3 separate regions of the Homo sapiens genome follow, and regions 1 and 2 are each linked to region 3. Evidence: promoter capture Hi-C in 16 types of primary human blood cells and fetal thymus (Javierre and others, 2016). All regions are on one chromosome and are shown on one strand. Each heading gives the region's core, a stretch centred on a gene start or on the middle of the fragment in contact. The rest is flanking DNA. Distances are from core to core; before and after follow the strand shown. Region 1 holds the start of LOC101927522 (a long non-coding RNA gene). Region 2 holds the start of LINC01801 (long intergenic non-protein coding RNA 1801). Region 3 holds the start of FXYD1 (FXYD domain containing ion transport regulator 1).

The links. Contacts are between HindIII fragments. The CHiCAGO score rates a contact against its expected background, and 5 or more counts as called.
Region 1: a fragment that was not itself captured here is called in contact with the fragment with the promoter of FXYD1 in region 3 in 13 of 17 cell types (M0 macrophages, total B cells, monocytes and 10 more); the score reaches 13.6 in M0 macrophages.
Region 2: a contact is called between the fragment with the promoter of LINC01801 here and the fragment with the promoter of FXYD1 in region 3, in 6 of 17 cell types (naive CD8 T cells, erythroblasts, non-activated CD4 T cells and 3 more). The highest score is 8.4, in naive CD8 T cells.

Annotation. Positions count from the first base shown.
Region 1 is chr19:35,431,082-35,434,824 of GRCh38, reverse strand. It overlaps LOC101927522 (a long non-coding RNA gene), which reads left to right and starts at 172. Exons shown (of 7, transcript NR_187751.1): 1 at 172-505; 2 at 987-1,236; 3 at 1,723-1,966. RefSeq lists an enhancer at 732-1,931. The HindIII fragment of the contact is 997 bases long and covers 789-1,785 here.
Region 2 is chr19:34,830,639-34,834,506 of GRCh38, reverse strand. It overlaps LINC01801 (long intergenic non-protein coding RNA 1801), which reads left to right and starts at 1,638. Exons shown (of 6, transcript NR_033982.1): 1 at 1,638-1,782; 2 at 1,971-2,177. The HindIII fragment of the contact is 2,823 bases long and covers 1,311-3,868 here.
Region 3 is chr19:35,137,207-35,140,761 of GRCh38, reverse strand. It overlaps FXYD1 (FXYD domain containing ion transport regulator 1), which reads right to left and starts at 1,938. Exons shown (of 8, transcript NM_021902.4): 1 at 1,868-1,938; 2 at 622-686; 3 at 133-165. The coding sequence starts at 682. The HindIII fragment of the contact is 25,239 bases long and covers 1-3,207 here.

The sequences.
Region 1 (3,743 bases), core at 38-2,537, 290 kb before region 3:
ATCTGCCCACCTCCGCCTCCCAAAGTGCTGGGATTACAGGCATGAGCCACCATGCTCGGCCTTGTTTCTATTTTCTTTGACACAAGCACTGTTTATCTTCCAGTGTAAGAACGCAATCAACCATAGCACTGTGGGATAGCAGCCAGGAGGCTGGCTGTATCCTGCTGCAGCAGCCACCACACATGGAGGGCGGAGGGACAGCCACCCTGTTGTGTAGCTCGGAGCAGCTGTGTCCTTCAGTGCAGGTCCAGCCAAGAGCCGTGGGCCACAGATGACGCTGGTGGGGAAGCAGAGGGCAGACTAGGCAGAGGCAAGGCTTTCCTGTGCCCTGAGCTGTCAGAGATGGGCCAGGGCCTTCAGCTTCCTCGATAGGGCAGAAGTGACCACGCTGGCTCCATTCAGCAAAGGACGTGGACGGAGCTGCCGGGCTTGTCTGAGAGGAGGAGAAATGTGGAATTGAGTGAGGCTCTCTAAGAAGGTTCTGCTGGAGTTGAGAAAAATTAGGGTGAGGCACCTCCCCGATTTTATGTCCTTTTTCCTGGGTCCAGCCTCCTGAACAGCTACCATTCGCTTCTGTGAGACACCTGTCGGTGCCTCCTTTTCCAGCCCTTAATGGAACGGTGAGTGAGGTTCCCTGACTGGGGTGGAGTCTGCTTGTGAGTTTCCCCATCCCATGTCTCTCTGACTCCTGCTCCAACTCCTTACTTCGCCAGTTCCTCTCCCAGCCACCTCAGACTTCCCATACCACCCTCCCTGGACAGGAAGCGTTTTTACAGGAGTTTGAAGCTTCAGGAGTGCCCTCCGGCCACATGAAGACAAGGCGCTAACAAACATGGCGTTCTGCAAATTGCACCATCGCCAACTCCTGTCTTACTCTCACAGAGGTCTCTTGGGCTCTTCTGAGAAGGGTGAATGAACTTGGTTGGAGGGAAGAGAGGGGTTTGGTGGCTCTTAGTAAAATTGCTTCACGCAGTGACCTTTGGCAGTTTAGGATAATAACCTGTGCAGAGAGAGGGTCTCCTGTCCTGAAGTCACAGCCCGGATCTCCAGGCTGGCTCTGCTGCCTCTGAATGATTTGTGGGTCACACACGCCAACAGCATCGCCAAGGGCTGACATCAGCCTGCTTGAGCCACGGAAACTGAATGGGCAAGGATGAGTTCCCCAGCACAGAGGGAGGCATCCTCTGTCAAGACCATCTGCGCATGTGCTGTGCAGTCTCCAGTCTGCACTGTGAGGTTAGTACTTCTTCCTCTCTCTAGAAAGTGTAATGGGGGCCAGGCATGATGGCCCACACCTGTAATCCTAGCACTTTGCGAGGCTGAGGTGGGCGGATTGCCTGAGCTCAGGAGTTTGAGACCACCCTGGGCAACATGGTGAAACCCTGTCTGTACTAAAATACAAAAAAATTTAGCTGGGTGTGGTGGCGGGCATGTGTAATCCCAGTGACTCAGGAGGCTGAGGCAGGAGAATCGCTTGAACCCGGGAGGCAAAGGTTGCAGTGAGCCGAGATCATGCCACTGTACTCTAGCCTGGGCAAAAGAGCGAGACTGGCTCAAAAGAAAGCATAACAGAATACTCATAACTGACAGTGACGTTGTAACAGCTTACCTTATATCCTCTCATTTCTTTGTTTACTTAAACTTCCAAAGCCTAGTTTTTTCAGTATTACCAGGAACCATGGACTTACATTTCTTGCCTCTTGGTGTGTTGCCACATCCCAGCAGTGTGTCTCAACGGCTTTTGAGAACTGCTTCGAGAGGGGACCAGATGCGCAGAGACAAGCTTCCAGCCTGGCTAGGGACGGACCCTCTGGGGATGCTCCTCTCTGGCCGGGCAGCAGTAGAAGCACCTGCCTCCATCCACATCCAGACGCCATTCCCTTTTCTTCACCGCTGCTTCCCATCAGATGGTCCCCAGGAGTGGCAACCTCCCACTTGGTCTCGCAGGAGTCCCAGTGCTTCTCAGGTGTGTGTGCCACATCCCTCTTCTCTGAACACACAGTGGTCAGGGTGCCTGCACAGGGAAGGGCACCACAGTCCACCCTGGGAAAGGTCTTCAGTCTTCGGGAAAGAGCCTGTAAGCACCTTGACTGCTCTTCTTCTCTAGGGCAGAGAGCTTTCTTATCCACAGGGGTCCTTAGTCAGAGAGAGGGAGCGCACTCGGTGAGCTCTTTCAGAGGCAGCAGAGCCCTCTGCCTCTCCCCAAATCCCTGCTCCTACAAGTCGAATTAATCTCTCCTAGAAATCCAAGTCCTAACTTCTTCCAGGCGTCTTTTTACATCCACTGTTTGCATAGCCCACCCTTTCTTCTTTGGAGGATCCCCTCAGGTAACTTCCATCTGCTCCTCAGTGTGTCTTACCCCTTCCTTCTGTTCTTTCTTCACCTCCCTCCCTCTCCACCTCCACACTGGACTATATCAAATTCCTGTTCATTTTTTAGCATGGCCCAGTCAAAGCAGGTTAATCTCTCAGTCAGCAGAGGACATTTCACAAAAATTGGGGCCGCTAAATCACAAAAATATTCTCTAAGTCCAGGGCCAGCCCAGAAAAAATGCCCCAAGTCCAGGCAGCCCCCCAGAGTCTGCCGCCGTCTGGAAAATCCGGCTCAGCTCTTGCTCCTGCACATCCTCTCCTTTCCAGTGCTCTGTGTCTGGTCCCTGTCCCACCTCCTCTCCTTTCCCCAGTGTCTTCTGTCTGAATTCTGTGGGCCCAGGACAGCCCCAGCCTTCTCAAAGTCACCTGCATGTCTCTTGGATTAGGCAGCTGAGTGCAAGGTAACAACCAGATCATGCATTTTCATCTCTCCATGGATGGTTGGGGATAGAGCATCACAAGACAGGCATTGTGGCTGGGTGTGTTGGCTCATGCCTATGATCCCAGCACTTGGTGGGAGACCAAGGCAGGTGGATTGCTTGAGCTCAGGAGTTCAAGACCAGCCTGGGTAACATGGTGACACCTGATCTCTACAAAAAAATACAAAAATTAGCCAGATGTGGTAGTGCATGCCTTTAGTTCCAGCTACTCAGGAAGCTGAGGTCAGAGGATCACTTGAGCCCAGGAGATCAAAGCTGCAGTGAGCCTAGATTGTGCCACTGCACTCTAGCCTGTGGGACAGAGTGAGACCCTGATTTTTTTTTTTTTTAAAGGCAGACATGGTTCTTGCCTTCATGAAATTGACATTGTAGTTGTGGGGAGGGGTGAGACACTAGTACAGTCTCTACAGTAATATAGGAGGTAATGTGGGGCACGCTTTCGGAAGGAAATAGAATTGGATGATAGAATAGGGTAATCTGTGCTGGGGGCAGCAGGGAAATGTCCTTGAAGGGGTGACATTTGAGCCGAGGCCTGTAGGTGCTCTCCATGGAAGAGCTGGGAGAGGAACACTCGGGGCAGATGGGACATTTTTTGCAAAGGCCCTGAGGCGATACGAAGCTTGGTGTGATGGAGAAACCGAAAGGAGGCCAGTGTGGCTGGGGGGGTGGGGTGGGAATGAGCATGAGGGAAGTGATGGGAAACCAGGTCAGAGACGTGACAGCTGGGGGTGGAGGGGGTGGAGGGAAAACACATGGTGCAGGGCCCTGTTGTCCAAGGTGAGGATTTGGATTTTATTCCCAAAGTCATAGGAAACTCTTGAAGGGTATAAGGCAGAGGAGTAAGTGATCTGATGTATGGGTTTCATTTCTTTTATCATGTTTTATTTTCTTTCTTTATTTTTGTATGATGTGTGGGTTTTAAGGATTCCT
Region 2 (3,868 bases), core at 389-2,888, 310 kb after region 3:
TTTTTTTTTTTAAAGAGAGATGGGGGTCTCACTATGTTGGCCAGGTTGGTCTTGAACTCTTGGTCTCAAGCAATCCTCCCTCCTCAGTCTCCCAAACTGCTAGGATTACAGGCATGAGCCACTACACCTAGCCACAGTAGCATTATTATTTCTAATAGCCAAACATCCATCAATAATAGAATGGGTAAATTATATTTGTTCAATGGAACATCACACAGCAATATAAAAGAATAAAGTGCTGCTAAAAGCAACAACATGGATGAATTTTATGAAGTGTTGAATGAAAAGACACAGCCACAAACAGGACACATGGTAGGGTTCCATTTATATAAAGTTTTTAAATAGGCAAAACTAATCTATAATGTTAAAAATTTGGGAGGGGCATAGTGACTAGGAATGAGCATGAGGTTGATTCTGAGGTGCCTGTGTTTTGCTTCTTGATCTAGATTACATAGGTTTGTTCATTCTGCAAAAATGTATTGAGGAATAGACAGATGATTTGTACACTTCTGTGTATGAATGTTATATTGTAAAGTTTCTTGAAGAATACCTGTTTACAAGAGTTAGAGAACATGGAAGCTCTTTCTCTGAGATAAAACATCTAAAAAGACAAAAATTAGCCGGGCGTGGTGGTGGGTGCCTGTAATCCCAGCTACTCGGGAGGCTGAGGCAGGAGAATGTCTTGAACCCGGGAGACAGAGGTTCTAGTGAACCAAGATCACACCACTGCACTCCAGCCTGGATGACAGAGGAAGACTCTGAGACTCCGTCACAAAAAAGAAAAAACAAACAAACAAACAAACAAAAAAGCCCTAAGTCATATCATGCCAGTCTCAGCAGTTTGAAACCCTCCATGGTTCCCATCTCTCAGTAAAAGGCAACGTTCTTATGACATCCTTCAAGGCCCCATGTAGTCTTTTGGTCCCTCTCCATCTCTGTCCTCCTGTCATCCACGTCTCCCACGTGCTGATTGGGTCTGGTAGGGTGACTGGGTGGCAAAGACCTCACAGAGGTGCCTTTCTGCTCAGGTGGCAAACAGGAGAGTCTATCTGGGCCCTGCAGGATGGATCCTTCCTGAGTCACTGAATATATTGGAGGTGCAGACAGCGCCAGAGAAAGGCATTGAGCCTGCCAGATCAGACACCGCCTCTTAGGGTCGACGGAACACCCAGGAGCAAAGACCAGAAATTGTGGGAGAAAGGCCTGGAAGGGGGCCGGGGAGAGGCACAGAGACAGCGAGGTGATGCAGGCTTGGTGGGAGCGGGTATGGTAGGCAATGGGGGACAGAGGGGCAGGGCACAGACAAAGCTTGCTGAAGATATGAAGAGCAATTGTGAGCCGGCGAATCCTTGGAGTAGAGGAGAAAATTGAGGTCTCCTGTTCAGCCCGATGCAGGTGAGATGCTGTTGGAACACGTGACAGAGAAAGGGTGTGTGAGCCCAGGGCTTGTGCACTAAGCGCACAGGAGCGAAGGGGGCGAGAAGAAAAAACGACGCCCAGCAAAGAGCGTCAAGGCCCAACCGCCTGCCCCCAACCGGTCTCTAGCGCCTCGTGACCTTCTGCACTCCGTTGCAGGCGTTTGGCACCAGATGGTCCCACGCGCTCTGTTCGACGGTTGGGGGCCGCGGACGCTGGTTGTCAGCAGCACTGGGTCAGCCGGTGAACGGGTGTGCAGCGTCCTCAGCGCCGCAGCAGTCAGCACCTGTGGGTGCTCTAGCTCTTTCCCTCGGGGTCACCGGAGGCAGAGCCTCCCCTACGCGGAGTAGAGGAGCAGCTCACATGGTGCGGGGGTGGGGATCGGGCTTCCTGGAAGGCTGGAAATGGGAGTTGGGATAAGGGGTTGGCGAGGGCGGGGCGGCACCGTCTACCGGGGTGACCGGTGTGCCCTGGCAGCCAGGGAGTCTGCTGCAGGGCAGGTATTAAGATTCGGAGAGACATAGGACAAAGAACCCTCGGCCTCTTCTTTTCAGGCAGCCGCCACAGAGGACACCAGATCATGCCAACACCCCCACAACTCCTGCCCGCCTGCAGGCAGCTCTGGGCTCAGGACACCGCCTGCAAGAACCTTTATAGCGCAGCTCTCCAAACCTTGGAGGCGAGGACATTCTATGTGCCCGCCCTGGAAAGGCCTGAACCTATAACATCTGGGCTGTGATGGTTTCTGAGGTGGACACCAGGTATTCTAAACTGCCCACATGCTTCACCCCAAAACTTCCCTTTCTAACAGGCAGTGTATTTTCACTTCTTTTAAAATATTTGGTAAAACAGCATTTAAGCCTTAGAAAGTTCCCCATCTCACCCCAGCCAGGGTTTGAACCCATGCTGTCTGATTCCACAGATCATGCATTTAACCACCAGACTTTGGTGTAGCCTCACCGTGTGTGCATAATGGATTACACTTGTTTATAATACTTGGGGTGCTTAGCACCATGTCAGAGCTGTAATGAGTACTTGCACTGTTAGGAGGTCTAACATGGTTCAATTTATAAGTGGACCATTGGCCACACCGGGTCTGGCTCAGTCTCCTGGGAGGATGTAGGCAGGGACCACCAATTATCAGCATATCTCCATGATGAATTTCTCCAGACAGCGTATCACTCTGTCACACAGGCTGGAGTCACAGCTCACTGCAACCTCGAACTCCTGGGCTCAAGAGATCCTCCCACCTCAGCTTCCCAAGTAGCTGAGACTGCAGGCATGCGCCACCACGCCTGATAATTTCTCTTCTAATTGAGCTTTGCAGAAAGCCACACAGCTGTCTGAGAGCTATTTTCTCCCAGGTATAGGGACAGGAAATGGCACCTCAGACTTCTGCAGATTCCACCCTGGCTTAAAAGCCCATGCCCCCAAGGACACCAATCTTTCTTACAATAACATAGACTATCTTTCAGGGTCCTGGCCAAGATGGACAACTTGCCAATATTAACTTTTCCAGGCCACAGGGATGATATATATCTCCATAGATTTAGGTCTTGAGTATTTTCTCCTAGAAATATTTCGCAGCAAGGGTCAGCACTGCAGCCTATGGGCCAACAAATTTAGCCTGTAGCCTACATGTAAGGCCAGTGAGTGAAGGATCCTATTAACAATTTTAAAGAGTTGCAGCAGAATACACAGAAACACAAAGAGTCTGTGTCACAGACAACGTGACCCACAAAGGCTATGCTACTTATTAGGCTGGTGCAAAAGTAATTGTGGTTTTTGCCATTACTTTCAAACCGCAATTACTTTTGTACCAACCTCATACTATCTGGCTTTTTAAGAGAAAATTTGCAACTGTTTTGCAGTTGTCTGTGCATAGATCTTCCACAGCTTTTGCTAATTTATTTCTAAGTATTCTATGGGGTTTGTAAATGCTATTGTAAATGGAATCTTTTAAATTTTAATTTTTGATAGTTCATTGGTAGAATATAGGTAATACATATAATACAGTCCAGTGTCGCTTTAACAATGGGAATACCTTCTGAGAAATGCATCATTAGGTGATTTTCGTCATTGTGCAAACATCATAGACTGTACCTACACAAACCTAGATGGTATAATTGACTATACTCCTAGGCCATATGGTATAGCCTGTAGCTACAAACCTGTACGGCATATACTGAATTTGAGGCAATTGTAACACAACGTTAAGTCTTTGTGTATCTAAATATATCTAAACACAGAAAAGAAACAGTAACAATGTCATATTATCTTATGGGAACACTGTCGTATATGCAGTTCATTGTTGACCAAAACCTTGTTATGAGGTGCATGACTGTGTATGTACATAAATGTATATATGCATACATATTGAGTTTGTATATTGAACCTCACTGAAATCGCTTTTGATTTCAGGTAGTTTCTTTGCAGATTCCATAGGATTTTC
Region 3 (3,555 bases), core at 689-3,188:
GGAAGGACAAAATAGAGGGAAGGAGAATGACAGAGATATCAATACTGGGACTCTGGGGGAGGGCGAGGGGGAATCAAAGGACCAGCAAAGCCAGGCTCTCCCCCAGGACTCAAAATTAGACCCCCCGCTCACCGTAAGTGAACGGGTCGTGTTCCTTTGGACTTTCTGGAAAGAGAGAGAAATCAGGGGTTGAATGCTTCCTGGGGTCCTGGCAGGGAGGGGCATGAGGAGACCACTGGAGGCTCTGCCTTGCTGGGCTTAGAGTCTGAGGGTGTCTGGGCAGGCTGCCCACACTCTCTGGGTCCCAGCTGCCCCCTCTGCACTGTCCCAGATGGGGCAGGTGGCACCTAACTGCCCCAGCTCCCTGACTCACGGCAGGCTGTCTGTGACCCAGTTATCCCATCGGGGATTCAGCCCCATCCCACCCCATCTTTGCCTGATCTGGGGCTTCCTCTCCCCTCCCCCAAATACCAGCCTGTGACTGGACCCCACGTGGAGACCCCCAAACTTCTTGGTACCCCAGCCGACTTAGTCTAGGTTGGGGTCTCCAACTTGGTTCTTCGGTCCCCACCGCCACCCCTGGGGCTGAGGTGGGTAGCGGGCAGCCTCCCCTGCACTCACCTGCCTTGGCCATGGTGAGGAGACCCACACAGAAAACCAAGATGTGGCCAAGAGACGCCATTGTCCTGGGGGGGACACCACGGATTAGGCAGTGTGTGCCCTTGCTCTCCCACATAGGGCTTGAACCCAAGGGATTAAGTCAGAGACAGTCTGGGGACTGAATCACAGAAGTGTTTGTCCTCTATCTTGGTGGCTCCAAGCTAGAGAAACGGGTATCCCCAGCTTCGTGGGGACACAGTGTCACCAAAACAACCTCCACGATGGGATCACACAACAACACAACGTAGCAGGGACGGGGGTGAGACACACAGTCCCCGGGGGGCCTCCCTTGGGCCTCCACCTCCCGCAGCAGGCCCCCGATTCCCAGACCTACCCTGGCAGGGCAGAGGAGGCGCTGCCTCACACAAACACAGAGCAGGAGACAGCAGGGCACGCCCAAGTCCCACCTGCCTACATGCCCGGCCTCACTGTGCCCCGCGAAATCCCAGCTCCCTGCCCTCTCCGCCCGCCCGCTCGCGGCCTGACCCCGGGTATAAATATCTCCCACTTCACCCTGGAGGAATTCTGCTCGCTCAGGCCACCATGGCAACAGCCTGCCTTCCCCCACTCAGGGGGTCACGCACAGCCCTGCCGGGGTGAGGCCCAGCTGCCACATCGCCACAGGCTGCCCCTGTGGGAAAGGTCACCCCGTCTCCTCCCTGGGCAGCAACGAGAAAAGGAAAAGACAGCCCCTCTGCCCGCCTCTGGGTGACATCTTTCACAATCGGATGTCAGGCAAGTGACATGAGGCCCAGCCCAGTGGGCCTTAGAGATAGAAAACACATGCTGGGGCAGGGATACACACACACACACACACACACACACACACACACACACACAGTGGGGCCGGAATGGACATGAACAACAACCTCTCCCCAAACTGCTGGTTGGAGCAGGACGTGGGGTGTAAACACCGTCAGGCATCCAATACTCCTCCTCTGGGCCTCCGGTGCCCCCACGCAGTGACGCAACCAGCCCTACACACGTGTGTGTCCCAACTCCACACCCTGCCAGGGTGCACACGCACCAGCAGGGCAGGGAGGAGTCACCCACATCCCACCCTGCAGAACCCACTGCCTCAACCACACTCCCTCCCTCTTGGGTTGGCCTGCCTGGGAAGCCTCGGGCTGGCCACTCCTGCTCCCAAAATAGGCGGCCCAGCCAGACCAGGGGTGAGGCCTGGAGGGAAGGAGTGGGGGACGCTCACCCCAATCGGGCTGTCCCCTGCTGAAAGAAGGCCCCCAAACGTCCTGCTGTGCCCCGGGGGCTGAGCACTTTGGACCCCCTGGCCCAGAGCTGGACGCGCCGCCCCCAGCAGCCTCCCCTCCCAGCCCCACCCCACCCATGCCCTCCCCAACCAGCAGCTGAAACTGGAGCTGGGGCTGGAGGGGGGCCAGGGGGCGGCCCCCAGCCCAGACTGCCCTGGCCCGCTTGGTTAACTCTCTCAGTTCAGAGAGAGCAGCAGCAGGCAGCCAGCAGGCAGGCTGGAGAGGCTAGGAGGATTGTGGAGGACAGGGTTGTGAACACACACACACACAAACACACACGCCTCCAAGAGCTTTTGGGCTGAGGCGGCTGCCCCCTGGGAACTGGGTCCAGCCAGGGCCGAAGGTCACCCAGCCTGACTGCCCAGGAGCCCACTGACCCCCGATCCCAGTGCTCCGTGAGGTCCTTAACAGGGCTGTTTTAGAGGACGGGAGGGAGGTGTGTGTGTGTGTGTGTGTGTGCGCGCGCATGTGCGCTATCTGCTGTGGTGAGATCCCCAGAAATGCACCACACACACACACCCACACACAATCCCAAAGACCCAGATATACAGGTACAAAACCAGACAAAACCATGTATGTATGTACATCCATAGAAGCAGACACACACAGAATGACACACTGATAGAGAAACCCAAAGACCCGGACACACAGCCAACACCTTTTATGCCAGTCACAAAATACCAGAACAAGCACATTTATGTCTACACAGACCCACGCACGCTCATGTAGATGGATGGCCACACAGAGATACAGTCAAAGACATAGCCACATCACCATCTACACTCACAAACTGGCCACAAAAATGCATGTTTATGTGAAGACCCACCCACAAATGGCCATACAGAAACACACAAGTATGTGCACACCGCACATAAATGCATTCTAAGATGCATGGCCAAACATGGCCAGGTACGGTGGCTCACACCTGTACTCCCAGCACTTTGGGAGGCCAAGGCGGGAGGATCACTTGAGGCCAGGAGTTCAACACCAGCCTGGCCAACCCGACGAGAGCTCGTCTCTACTAAAAAAATATACAAAAATTAGCTGGGTGTGGTGGCGTGCGCCTGTAATCACGGCTACTCCGGAGGCTGAGGCAGGAGAGTCACTTGAGCCCGGGAGGCAGAGCTTGCAGTGAGCTGAGATCATGCCACTGCACTCTAGCCTGGGCAACAGAGCGAGACTCTGTCTCAAAAACAAAAACAAAACAAAAAAACCCCAAAGGTACAGACATGCAGCCAGCACTCCTACATGGTCCCAAAGATAGGAAGGCCAACAAGCTTGTGTACACACAGACAGATTTCCATGGGCACAGATACACAAGCAGAAACACCATCAAGGACAACCCGCCGCTCTCACACATACCCACAAAAGCAGAAACACACACACTGGTTCACACCCTATGCTTGAGCAAACAGGCACATGGTTGGCCACGGTGACAGATGCGCAGGCTGACACACTTGCATGTTCACACATTCCAAAACCACAGATATGTATTTAACCCCACACTTTCCTTCCCCTGAGCTCTTGTCGGGGACAACACACCTGGCGTCCCCATGGGCAGGCCAGGTTTACAGGTCCTGGTGACAGGGAAACCTGGAATGGCCCAGGCACTGCACTCCTGGTTGTG